Regions from separate parts of the Homo sapiens genome. Here all the other regions are linked to region 1. Evidence: promoter capture Hi-C in 16 types of primary human blood cells and fetal thymus (Javierre and others, 2016). All regions are on one chromosome and are shown on one strand. The core of a region is centred on a gene start or on the middle of the fragment in contact, and the rest is flanking DNA. Distances in the headings are between cores, read along the strand shown. Region 1 holds the start of ACBD3 (acyl-CoA binding domain containing 3). Region 2 has its middle 25 kb from the start of LEFTY2. Region 3 overlaps PARP1 (poly(ADP-ribose) polymerase 1). Region 4 overlaps SDE2 (spliceosome associated SDE2).

Region 1 (2,638 bases), core at 41-2,540:
ACCTAGCAACCACTTTTAAAGTTGCATTTGCTGATGTCCCTCCCTGTCCATTCGCCCTACAAGACTAAGTATCTTTAAGAATCAAACTAACGGGCTTTCATCAGTTTTTCCCACTGACAAAAATCATGTGATTGGTCTCTCCACCATTCGACTAAGTGAATCACCCAATTAAAAAAAAAAAAAACCGCACACTACAATCTTGCTCTAAGACAAGAGACATTTAACAATTAATTATGCGAAAAGCACAGAAGGTACTGTTAGGCCTTACTCTGAGAATTCACTCTTGCACATTGCTTACAATGTAAAATTTTAACCACCTAGAAGTTACTAGAACATAGTGGACATCTCTCCTCAAGAGTTTGACAAGCCGGAGAGGATGATGAGCTTAACACTTTACTTCCTCCTCTCTGCCACATCAATCTGCCGGGGGATCAAGTCCTGTTCCAGTTTATGGTTCCCAAGAATGGCTGGAAAAGCTATGTATGGAACCTCTTGACAGATTTCTTCCACTAAGGGTAAAAATCGGCGGGTTCTGATGTGACAAGCCATGGGAAATAGGAAAAGAAAAGCGTCAGTTAAAAAAATAATAATAATAAAAGGCAATCCCAGAATGGGATCCTTTGGAAGAAAGTGGGCTCATTCTTCCACCAGGGCTCCTGGAAATCCCAGAAGCTAAATCAGGTAAAATGTCCCGGTAACCTCTGGGAGGCGGGACATGACTGCTAAACCAAGGTTGCAGGCCCGTCAGGGGTGTGACCTAGTGGCCAAGCGGGTAGTGACAAACTTCGGGTACCCCCAAGGAGGGAACCCCGCTTGAGTCACCACAGCCCAGTATGAGTGGGTGAGGGCAAGTCTGGTCCAGTCACCCTGGGGACCACAGCCCACGCCGGGCTCCCGGGGCCGGGCAGAAGCGGCGGGGGTGGGGCTGGCCCGGCTCACCTTTGAAGAAGCGCAGTGCCAGGCCGTACAACTCCTCCAGGCCGAAACCCCAGCGCTGCTCCAGCCGCCGCGCCTCCTCCGCCGCGCCCCCAGCCGCCGCCTCCCCGGGCTCGGGCTGCTCCCCTGAGGCGCCCGGGCCGCGACCGGATCCAGGTGGCGAGGGCGGTGGCAGCGGTGGCGGCAGCAGCGGGGCGCCCTCCGCCCCAGGCCGCTCCTCCGGGTCCGGGCTGAGCGTGAGGCCGTCGACGGACACCTCGAGTCGCTCTGCGTTCAGCACCGCCGCCATCTCCGGCTGCTGCACCTCCTCAGCGGGGACAGACGGCAGCCACGTATCGACTTCCTGCTGACCTCTGACCTCCGCTTACCGACACCGGAACTTCCGCTGCTGAGGAGGCTGGAGGGCTCCGGGAGAGGGGCTGAGGCCTGGCGCCCCACCCCCTCCGGAATCGTCAGTTGCCCTGGCTCAGCGACCACCCTTCAGGCTCCCCAACTCCCGTTGGTCCCGAACTCCCCTCCCCCGCACCCCATCCTTTCGGATCCCAGTTGCTCCAGGTGGGCGGGTGCTACCACCCCCACCGCTCGGTTCGGTGCTGCGGCTGTCAGTGCCCAGCAGGGGCGGGGTCAGTGGAGCCCCGCGCGGGGGTCGGAGTAGGGAGGATTGACGAGGTCGGCCAGCACCCAACCCTCCAGGTCAGAGGCCCTTCACATTTGCAGGGGCCTGCGTGGTTGGCAGAGCTCTTTTGCCCACCACCATCTCGTTTGGCCTTCACAGCAACTCTAAGGAAATGCAGGGCAAATTCCCAATTTTTTTAAAAGGGGAAACTGAGACTGCAGAGAAATTCAGTGACTTTGAGGTTGCAGACGGGGCTGATCCTGGTTTTGCAGGAAGCGCAGCTCATACAATTTGTGGGGACCCTCATTAGGAAAGAGTACAAAAAGTTACGCGCAGAAGGGTAGGAAAGTGAATGTATATTTAGAAAGAGAAAGAAAAAACAAATGATATTTTAAAAGTTAATAAAACCCACAAACATCACACACATAACCGTAATATTTTCATTGACTGCCTGATATTCTTCTACAGGGCGTCTGAGAGCCCAGAAACCTATTTTTTTCTAAAAGATTGAAGTCGCCCCCGACATTATGTATATTCACCTGTGTTTCCAGACTTTGGGAGCACCATTTATGATCATTTTTCCCACCTTTGTTTTGGCTGCGTACTTCTGATTGCCTTTTCCTATAACAATTATTTTGTAACTTTTTTTTTTTTTTTTTTTTTTTGTTTTTTGCAGACAGTCCTGCTGTGCCACCCAGGCTGGAGTGTAGTGGTGCAATTCGGTTCACTGCAACCTCTGCCTCCCGGGTTCAAGCAACTCTCCTGCCTCAGCCTCCCAAGTAGTTGGGATTACAGGTGCTCACCACCACGCCCGGCTAATTTTTGTAAACTTAGTAGAGTCAGAGTTTCCCCATGTTGGCCAGGCTGGTCTCAAACTCCTGACCTCATGTGATCTGCCCGCCTCAGCCTCCCCAAAGTGCTGGGATTACAGGTGAGAGCCACCGCGCCCGGCGTATTTTGTAATTCTCTATAAAGAAAAGAGAAAGATCAGTCTTTTCTCCAGCATGGCTGATTAAATTTGTTTCTTAATAATTGTTTATAAATTTATTTCAGCATCACAACTCATTACTGATATTGTTAACGTAC
Region 2 (2,638 bases), core at 66-2,565, 220 kb before region 1:
GCTCACACCTGTAATCCCAGCACTTTGGGAGGAGGCTGAGGCTGGCAGATCACTTGAGGCCAAAAGTTCAAGACCAGCCTGGTCAACATGGCAAACCCCGTCTCTACTAAAAATACAAAAATTAGCCAGGCATGATGGCGCGCACCTGTAGTCCCAGCTACTCAGGAGACTGAGGCAGGAGAATTGCTTGAACCAGGGAGGCAAAGGTTGCAGTGAGCCAAGATTGCGCCACTGCACCCCAGCCTGGGCGACAGAGCATGACTCTGTCTCAAAAAAAAAAAAAGTGTCAACCTGATTGGATTGAAGGATGCAAAGTATTGTTTCTGGGTGTTTTTTTGTGACAGTGGTAGCAGAGGAGATTAACATTTGAGGCAGTGGACTGGGAGAGGCAGCATGGCTAGAAATAGCAGGCAGGAGATGGAAGGGCAGAGTTGCTGAGTCTTCAGGCCTTCATCTTTCTCCCGTGCTCGATGCTTCCTGCCCTGGAACATCAGACTCCAAGTTCTTTGGTTTTTGGACTCTTGGACTTACACTGGTGGTTTGCCAGGGGCTCTCGGGCCTTTGGCCACAGACTGAAGGCTGCACTGTCAGCTTCCCGACTTTTGAGGTTTTGAGACTCAGACTAAGCCACTACTGGCTTCCTTGCTCCTGAGCTTGCAGAGAGTCTATCGTTGGACTTTACCTTGTGATCTTGTGAGTCAATTCTCCTTAATAAACTTCCTTTCATATATACATACATCCTATTAGTTCTGTCCCTTTAGTTCTGTCCCTAATACAAGGTGTTGATCAAAAGCAAGTTCTAGAATGTTCAGGCTGACTCTGGGCACAGTGCCTATGGGTTAGTCCTCCTACAAAAGGAGCAGCACCAGTTCAGTAAAATTGCTACAGAGAGAGAGAGAGAGAGAGAGAGAGAGAGAGAGAGAGAGAGAATGTTCCATAGTGTAGGGAAAAGAAAGAGAGATCAGACTGTTACTGTGTCTATGTAGAAAGGAAAGACATAAGAGACTCCATTTTGAAAAAGACCTGTACTTTAAACAGTTGCTTTGCTGAGATGTTGTTAATTTGTAGCTTTGCCCCAGCCACTTTGACCCAACCTGGAGCTCACAAAAACATGTGTTGTACGAAATCAAAGTTTAAGGGATCTAGGGCTGTGCAGGACGTGCCTTGTTAACAACATGTTTACAAGCAGTATACTTGGTAAAAGTCATCGCCATTCTCTAGTCTCAATAAACCAGGGGCACAATGCACTGCGGAAAGCCGCAGGGACCTCTGCCCTGGAAAGCTGGGTATTGTCCAAGGTTTCTCCCCATGTGATAGTCTGAAATATGGCCTTGTGGGATGAGAAAGACCTTACCATCCCCCAGCCCGACACCCATAAAGGGTCTATGCTGAGGTGGATTAGTAAAAGAGGAAAGCCTCTTGCAGTTGAGATAGAGGAAGGCCACTGTCTCCTGCCTGCCCCTGGGAACTGAATGTCTCAGTATAAAACCCGACTGTACATTTGTTCAATTCTGAGATAGGAGAAAAACCGCCCTATGGTGGGAGGCAAGACATGTTTACAGCAATGCTGCCTTGTTATTCTTTACTCTGCTGAGATGTTTTGGTGGAGAGAAACATAAATCTGACTTACGTGCACGTCCAGTCATAGTACCTTCCCTTGAACTTCATTATGACATAGATTCTATTGCTCACATGTTTGTTGCTGACCTTCTCCTTATTATCACCCTGCTCTCCTACTACATTCCTTTTTACTAAAATAATAAAAATAATAATCAATAAAAACTGAGGGAACTCAGAGACTGGTGCCGGTGCAGGTCCTTGGTATGCTGAGTGCCAGTCCCCTGGGCCCACGGTTGTTTCTCTATACTTTGTCTCTGTGTCTTATTTCTTTTCTCAGTCTCTCATCCCACCTGACTAGAAATACCCACAGGTGTGGAGGGGAAGGCCACCCCTTCACATAGCAGCACCATTAATAATACCCCCAAACTGGGAATTATCCAAATATCCATCAATAGTAGAGTGGATGAATTGCTGCACACTAGAATACTATAAAGCAACGAACATGAATGAATGACCACTACTCATGAATGAATGAAACCGTATAGGGAATCCCACATACATCATACATGTAAAAGAAAACTTGCCTTCTCTCAGATTCCATTTATACAAGTCAGGATAATGGTACCCTTGGAAGGTAGTGACCAGAAGGGGTCTCCAGGGCTTTGGAGTTCTTATAATGTTCTGTTTCTTGATCTGGATGCTGGTTACAGAGTTCATTTGTAAAAAAAAAAATTCACGTTGTACATTCTGATTTATTCATTGTTCATACTGTTTGTATGTTATATTCAATAACACAATTTTTAAGACACCATTAAGGAAATGGAAAGCTGAGAGTAGGAGGAGACATTTGCAACACATAAAAATATCACTTAGGTCTTTGCCTTTACTCTAAATTAAGTAAGGGGCCAGGCGCGGTGGCTCATGTCTATAATCCCAGCACTTTGAGAGGCCAAGATGGACAGATCACCTGAGGCCAGGAGTTCAAGACCAGCCTGGCCAACAGAGTGAAACCCTGTCTCTACTAAAAATACAAAAAAAAAATAGCCAGGCATGGTGGCGCGCAACTGTAGTCACAGTT
Region 3 (2,638 bases), core at 73-2,572, 220 kb after region 1:
AGGATGGGGAAATTCCTGCTGTAGAAGAGACAACAAATGGCATTTCTGAGAGCATACTCATGTTCCAACTCTCAAACGTTCCACCAGATCTCAATTAGGCTGCTGATACAGATCCCTAAGCATCTGGCTATCATGGAATATTTGCAATGGCCTCGACCTGGCTCTGCCTGCTTGTCTACCCCTTGTCTACCCTTCCTGTGCAATGTTCCAGTTACCCTTGTATAAAGAGCACAGGTAATGGCTATGGCACTTCTTCCTGGCTCTGCCAGGGGCCCCAGACCTGCTGCCCTTTGGTCTGGGTGCTGTCTCCCCCAACCACCGGCACAGTGCTGGACACCCTGGAGGTGCTGCCCAATGGTGCAATCACAGCACAAGCTTAGAGGACAAGAGCCTCAGCAGAAGCACCCCTGACCAAAGCAATGCTTTGCCCTAAACTCAGGACTGAGAATGATGTGGCAGAAAGGCACCAAACCAAGGTCACAAGACTATCGACTCCATTTGTTAGCTGCACAGCTGAGGCAAGGCACAGAATCTTTGGCTGTGCACCCAAGCAAAAACTGAGCACCTAACATACCAGGGTCCTCACCCAACCAGCAGCTGGTGAACTGGGTTCCCTTCTGTGCAGAACAGGCCATGCTACCTGTCCACCTAGGCCACAGAGAGAATGAACTGACCTCACTGCATGCCTCCGGGTGCTCAAACCCTCCCAGGACAGAGCAACTCAAAGGTCTACCGCCATCCTCCTCCCACCAAAATGCTGGAGGGCCCAGCTCATCCCTCCCAAGATGCCCCAGGCATGAGGGCTAAAGTGTCAGGTATCAGATACTCAGAGAACAATACTCCCATGTAAATGTAAAAGAAGGTATTTAAATTCAAGCAAGTGAAAAGGCTTCTTTCTTTTTGGCCTTCACCAGCTCAGTCTACCAGACCAACTTTAAATTCTGAATTAAAACTCTGAATCCACCCTTAATCACCATTACATAAAAATCACAGTTACTTTTAATAATAAAGAGTTTCTTTCACTATCAAGTATACCAAAGGAAAGCCCAGAATGTTGTTATTACTATTTTTTTTTTCAGACAGGGTCTGGGTCTGGGTCTGGGTCTGTCGCCCAGGCTGGAGTGCAGTGGCACTATCTCAGCTCACTGCAACCTCCACCTCCCAGGCTCAAGCAATCTTCCAGCTTCAGCCTCCGGAGTAGCTGGGACTTAACAGGCACGCACCACCACGACCCGCTAATCATTGCATTTTTTTGTAGAGACAGGTTTCACCATGTTGGCCAGGCTGGTCTCAAACTGCTGAGCTTAAGTAATCTGCCCACCCCAGCCTCCCAAAGTGCTGAGATTACAAGCATGCGCCACCAAGCCCGGCCCCAGAATGCTAAACTTGATCAGGTTCAGTTTCCTCCATCCGGCCTCCCCCACAGCTAAGCCTCCTCTAACTTCCTCCACAGCGGTGTTGTTCTAGCCTCAACACAGTCTGGACTTGGGTTTTGTTTGTCTTTCCACCAGAACACGGTACTCTGCCCACCTGTTAAGGCGCCTGGATGTCCCTTTCTCAGAATAACATTTAAAAATGCGTAATAAAAAGGCTCGCAAATGGCCAGTCACGGTGGCTCATGCCTGTAACCCTAGCACTTTGTGGGGCCGAGGTGCATGGATCGCTTGAGCTCAGGAGTTTGAGACCAGCCTGGGCAACATAGTGAGACCCCATCTCAAAAAACAAAACAAACAAAAAGGCTCGAAAAGGAAACACTGAGATAATTATCAAAACATTTGAAAGGTAATTTGGGTACAGTAACCCGTGAGCTTTTAAGCATTAAATAACAAGATCTAGTACAGCCTCTAATAACTGTGATTTTTGTAGCAATGAGAGTAAATTATATTTTGAAAAACTTCCAACTGTAAAGTGATATGAAAATATCTGTAATTATCACTGGTGAAAAAAAAATAGGGACTGCTAATATGCCTTTGCTTTGCTGCTTACATTTATGATTAGAGGAAATAATTTTATCTAGAGGTTAGTGGAGATGGAGATATCAATTTTTTCTTATCTAAACTCATGGACCTCTTGCCTTCTACCTACCATCCCACAGACCCTGGGTTAAGAGCTCCTGCACCAGGAGTGAGAACTTCATAACAGGCTGCCTTGTATATTCAAAGTAAGTTCTAGGTTCCTTAGTGGGCAACAAGGCTCTTCAAATTGTAGGCCCTGTCTACTTCCCTATTCTCATCTTTCTGCTCCACTTCTGTGAATTAACGACTCCTAATCAAGCTTCCACCCTTAGCTGGGTCATCTCGGACTCCTAGGCACACAATGCCTAGAGCACAGCTCCATCAGGTGGCATCCATCCTCTCTTACGGTAACGTTTGTTTACCAGTCATTTCCCGTTTAACCAAACTGGAAATTCCCAAAGGTGGATTCTGTGTCCTTAAAACCTAACAGAGTGCTTAGAACTTAAAAAATGCCTACCAAATAAGCACTGTGTGCCACGTACTGACTTAGGTATGCCCCGAGGACACCAAGATGACAGGCATATTGTGAAATAAGATAACGGAAGTACACCTGGCACTTGGGTATCCACTCGGTAAATGTCGCCCTCCCTTGTACTAAGTACTGAAAATCCACTGAGGGATAT
Region 4 (2,638 bases), core at 41-2,540, 200 kb before region 1:
GAGGGAAAAAAATAAGAAAATATTTAAAACAGGCTCCTTCCTCTGAATAAAGACTCTTTAACTGTCAACTACATTTCTTGAGAAATTTTCATTTAATTTGCCATACCTTGCAACTGAATTTTAATCATCATCCATCCACATGTTATTCCATAAGTATTCTCAACACACATAATAACTAATTTTTCATCTATACATTTAGAAACAAGCATTCAGAACAGTAACAGAAGTATAGCATTCCCAAACAGATTTTTAATATTGCTTTCTTTTCCGATTTTTCTAGTAAACATCTAAACAGTAAAATATAGCCAGCCTATCCCCACACTATTCCCACAGAAAGAGCAGGCACTCCTAAAAGCTTAATGAGAATCCCATGCCTCTGAATCTACTAATTCCATAATCTTAATGCTTTCTATTCTAATTGAGTAATTAAAACTAATTGTCAGACCTCTCCCTTATATAACTCAACAAACTCAAATGCTGTTCAATAGACTTGCAACTGTTCTACCCACCAAGTGCCTTTATAGACTTTAAGACAAAATTAGCCTGTAATCCCAGCCCTTTGGGAGGTGGAGGCAGGCGGAACACTTGAGATTAGGAGTCCGAAACCAGCTTGGTCAACATGGTGAAACCCCGTCTCTACTAAAAATACAAAAATTAGCCGGGTGTGGTGGTGCGTGCCTGTAGTCTCAGCGTGCCTGTAGTCTCAGCTACTTGGGAGACTGAGGCAGGAGAATCACTTGAACCTGGGAGGTAGAGCAGAAATCACACCACTGCACTCCAGCCTGAGCAACAGAGTGAGACTCTGTCATTAAAAAAAAAAAAAAGACAAAATTAAATACTGCTAATGATACCTTGAAAAGAATGAAAATGTCTATCTTTGAGTGATTTTTTATATTCAAAGAATAACTTTCACAGTTTTAAAATATTAAAGAGCTCTGGAGACATACTCTATCTTTCTAGTTGATCTTTGTTTTCTTAAAAAAGCTGTTTTGTTAGATTTCTGGGAGTTAACCTTGGCTTATTTATGACCAAATTCTAAAATGCCACTTATGTGTGTTTAAAGAATCACACTTGGTTGTTAGGAATACAACAGCTATTACTACAACATCAAGAACAAAACTCCATGGCTAACACTGAAAAATATCAGGTTTTATCCTATGATTCCTTTTTTATTTTTCTAAGACTTCAGTCAGGATAAAGCTCTTACCTGTATACACATAACACAAAAATTACATGCTTACAAATTCAGAGATTGTAAGGACCTTAGCATAAAAAAATTCCAATAGTCTCACCAGAAAGGGCAATTTATGCATTTTTACTTACTTACTGGGGGCAGGGGAAGGTGCTGGCTAAACAAATGGTAGGTTTTGTGTTTATCGAAGGAAATTAAGTAGTTTAGGTTTCACCTATTCTAAAAAGCAAACCATTAGATCAAAGCACAGAGATTTTTGCTGGAAGCCAGTCCATTGTAGATAGTGAAAAACCAACTTTTTGAGAGAATGTACTATGAAAATGCCTTTTTATTATTATTTTTTGAGATGGAGTCTCACTCTGTCGCCCAGGCTGGAGTACAGTGGTACAATCTCATCTCACTGCAACCTCCACCTCCCAGGGCACAAGCCATTCTCGTGGCTCAACCTCCTGAGTAGCTGGGATTACAGGCGTGCACCACCATGCCCGGCTAATTTTTGTTGTTGTTGTATTTTTAATAGAGACAGGGTTTCACCATGCTGGCCAGGCTGGTGTCAAGCTCCTGACCTCAGGTGATCTGCCCACCTCAGCTTCCCAAAGTGCTGGGATTACAGGCGTGAGCCACCGCACCTGGCTGAAGATGCCTTTTTTAAAAGGCTGACTGTGGGTACTTAAGATTTAATGATAAATTTAAAAGGAGGTTCCTCTTCTATAGAAGAGGTCTTCACATTCAGCTGAAACTATTGTTCAAGCTATCCTCACATTAGAAAAAGCTGAGTAGCAATTTAGTGACGGGAAAAATGAGCACATTTCATCAAATCTAAAATGCCATCTATCATAATATACCCTCATTCATGTATTACTAAGAATAAACAATACCAATTAAGTTATAATATGTTATACACATCTCATTTTAGACATGCTAAAATGTGGAAAACATGCATCTTACAATTGATGCAATATGGAATCAAGGACACCACCTAGTGGCAACATAGTATAAATGCCAGAACTTAAAAAGTTTTTGGGGAATAAGGCAAGCTTCACCATAATCTGTACTTCTTAAAATCAAATAAGCCTTTCACTAAGCAGCTGAGGGGCAAAAGCACATTTTCATTTTAATGACTTATTGTGGAGATTAAACTGATTTGGCTCTAGGTATCAACCCCAAAACATACTTACTGCGTTTCCTGGCTGGCTTTCCTGCAGTTTGGCAACGGCAACGTTTTCCCTTTCTTCAGGTGCTACCTCAGCAACTCTTTCCCCATCAGTCCTTTCTTCTGTCTCTTTATCCTTATTCAGTCCAGCCCCAGTGGGCTCCTCTTCTATGGGTTCTTTACTCTCTGCCTTCTTCTCCTGGGTCTCTTCTGTTTCTGTAACCATCCTGCTTTCCATGTGCTCTTTGGACTCCCCCAGCTCAGCACATGAGTCTTCTAAAATATGCCTCCCA

The links. Contacts are between HindIII fragments. The CHiCAGO score rates a contact against its expected background, and 5 or more counts as called.
Region 2: a contact is called between a fragment that was not itself captured here and the fragment with the promoter of ACBD3 in region 1, in 1 of 17 cell types (neutrophils). The highest score is 5.0, in neutrophils.
Region 3: a fragment that was not itself captured here is called in contact with the fragment with the promoter of ACBD3 in region 1 in 1 of 17 cell types (total B cells); the score reaches 5.5 in total B cells.
Region 4: a contact is called between a fragment that was not itself captured here and the fragment with the promoter of ACBD3 in region 1, in 1 of 17 cell types (activated CD4 T cells). The highest score is 6.1, in activated CD4 T cells.

Annotation. Positions count from the first base shown.
Region 1 is chr1:226,185,451-226,188,088 of GRCh38, forward strand. ACBD3 (acyl-CoA binding domain containing 3) reads right to left here and starts at 1,291. Exons shown (of 8, transcript NM_022735.4): 1 at 940-1,291. The coding sequence starts at 1,225. It overlaps LOC101927247 (a long non-coding RNA gene), which reads left to right and starts at 2,446. Exons shown (of 2, transcript XR_001738504.2): 1 at 2,446-2,483. RefSeq lists silencers at 782-1,261, 898-1,192. The HindIII fragment of the contact is 12,408 bases long and covers 1-2,638 here.
Region 2 is chr1:225,964,903-225,967,540 of GRCh38, forward strand. No RefSeq gene overlaps it. Among named protein-coding and RNA genes, the nearest start is that of LEFTY2, 25 kb to the left of the region's middle. The HindIII fragment of the contact is 9,237 bases long and covers 1-2,638 here.
Region 3 is chr1:226,404,234-226,406,871 of GRCh38, forward strand. The region is part of intron 1 of PARP1 (poly(ADP-ribose) polymerase 1); the gene reads right to left. Among named protein-coding and RNA genes, the nearest start is that of PARP1, 2.5 kb to the right of the region's middle. RefSeq lists an enhancer at 2,425-2,484. The HindIII fragment of the contact is 1,899 bases long and covers 374-2,272 here.
Region 4 is chr1:225,985,526-225,988,163 of GRCh38, forward strand. SDE2 (spliceosome associated SDE2) reads right to left here. Exons shown (of 7, transcript NM_152608.4): 6 at 2,371-2,638. Among named protein-coding and RNA genes, the nearest start is that of SDE2, 12 kb to the right of the region's middle. The HindIII fragment of the contact is 1,874 bases long and covers 354-2,227 here.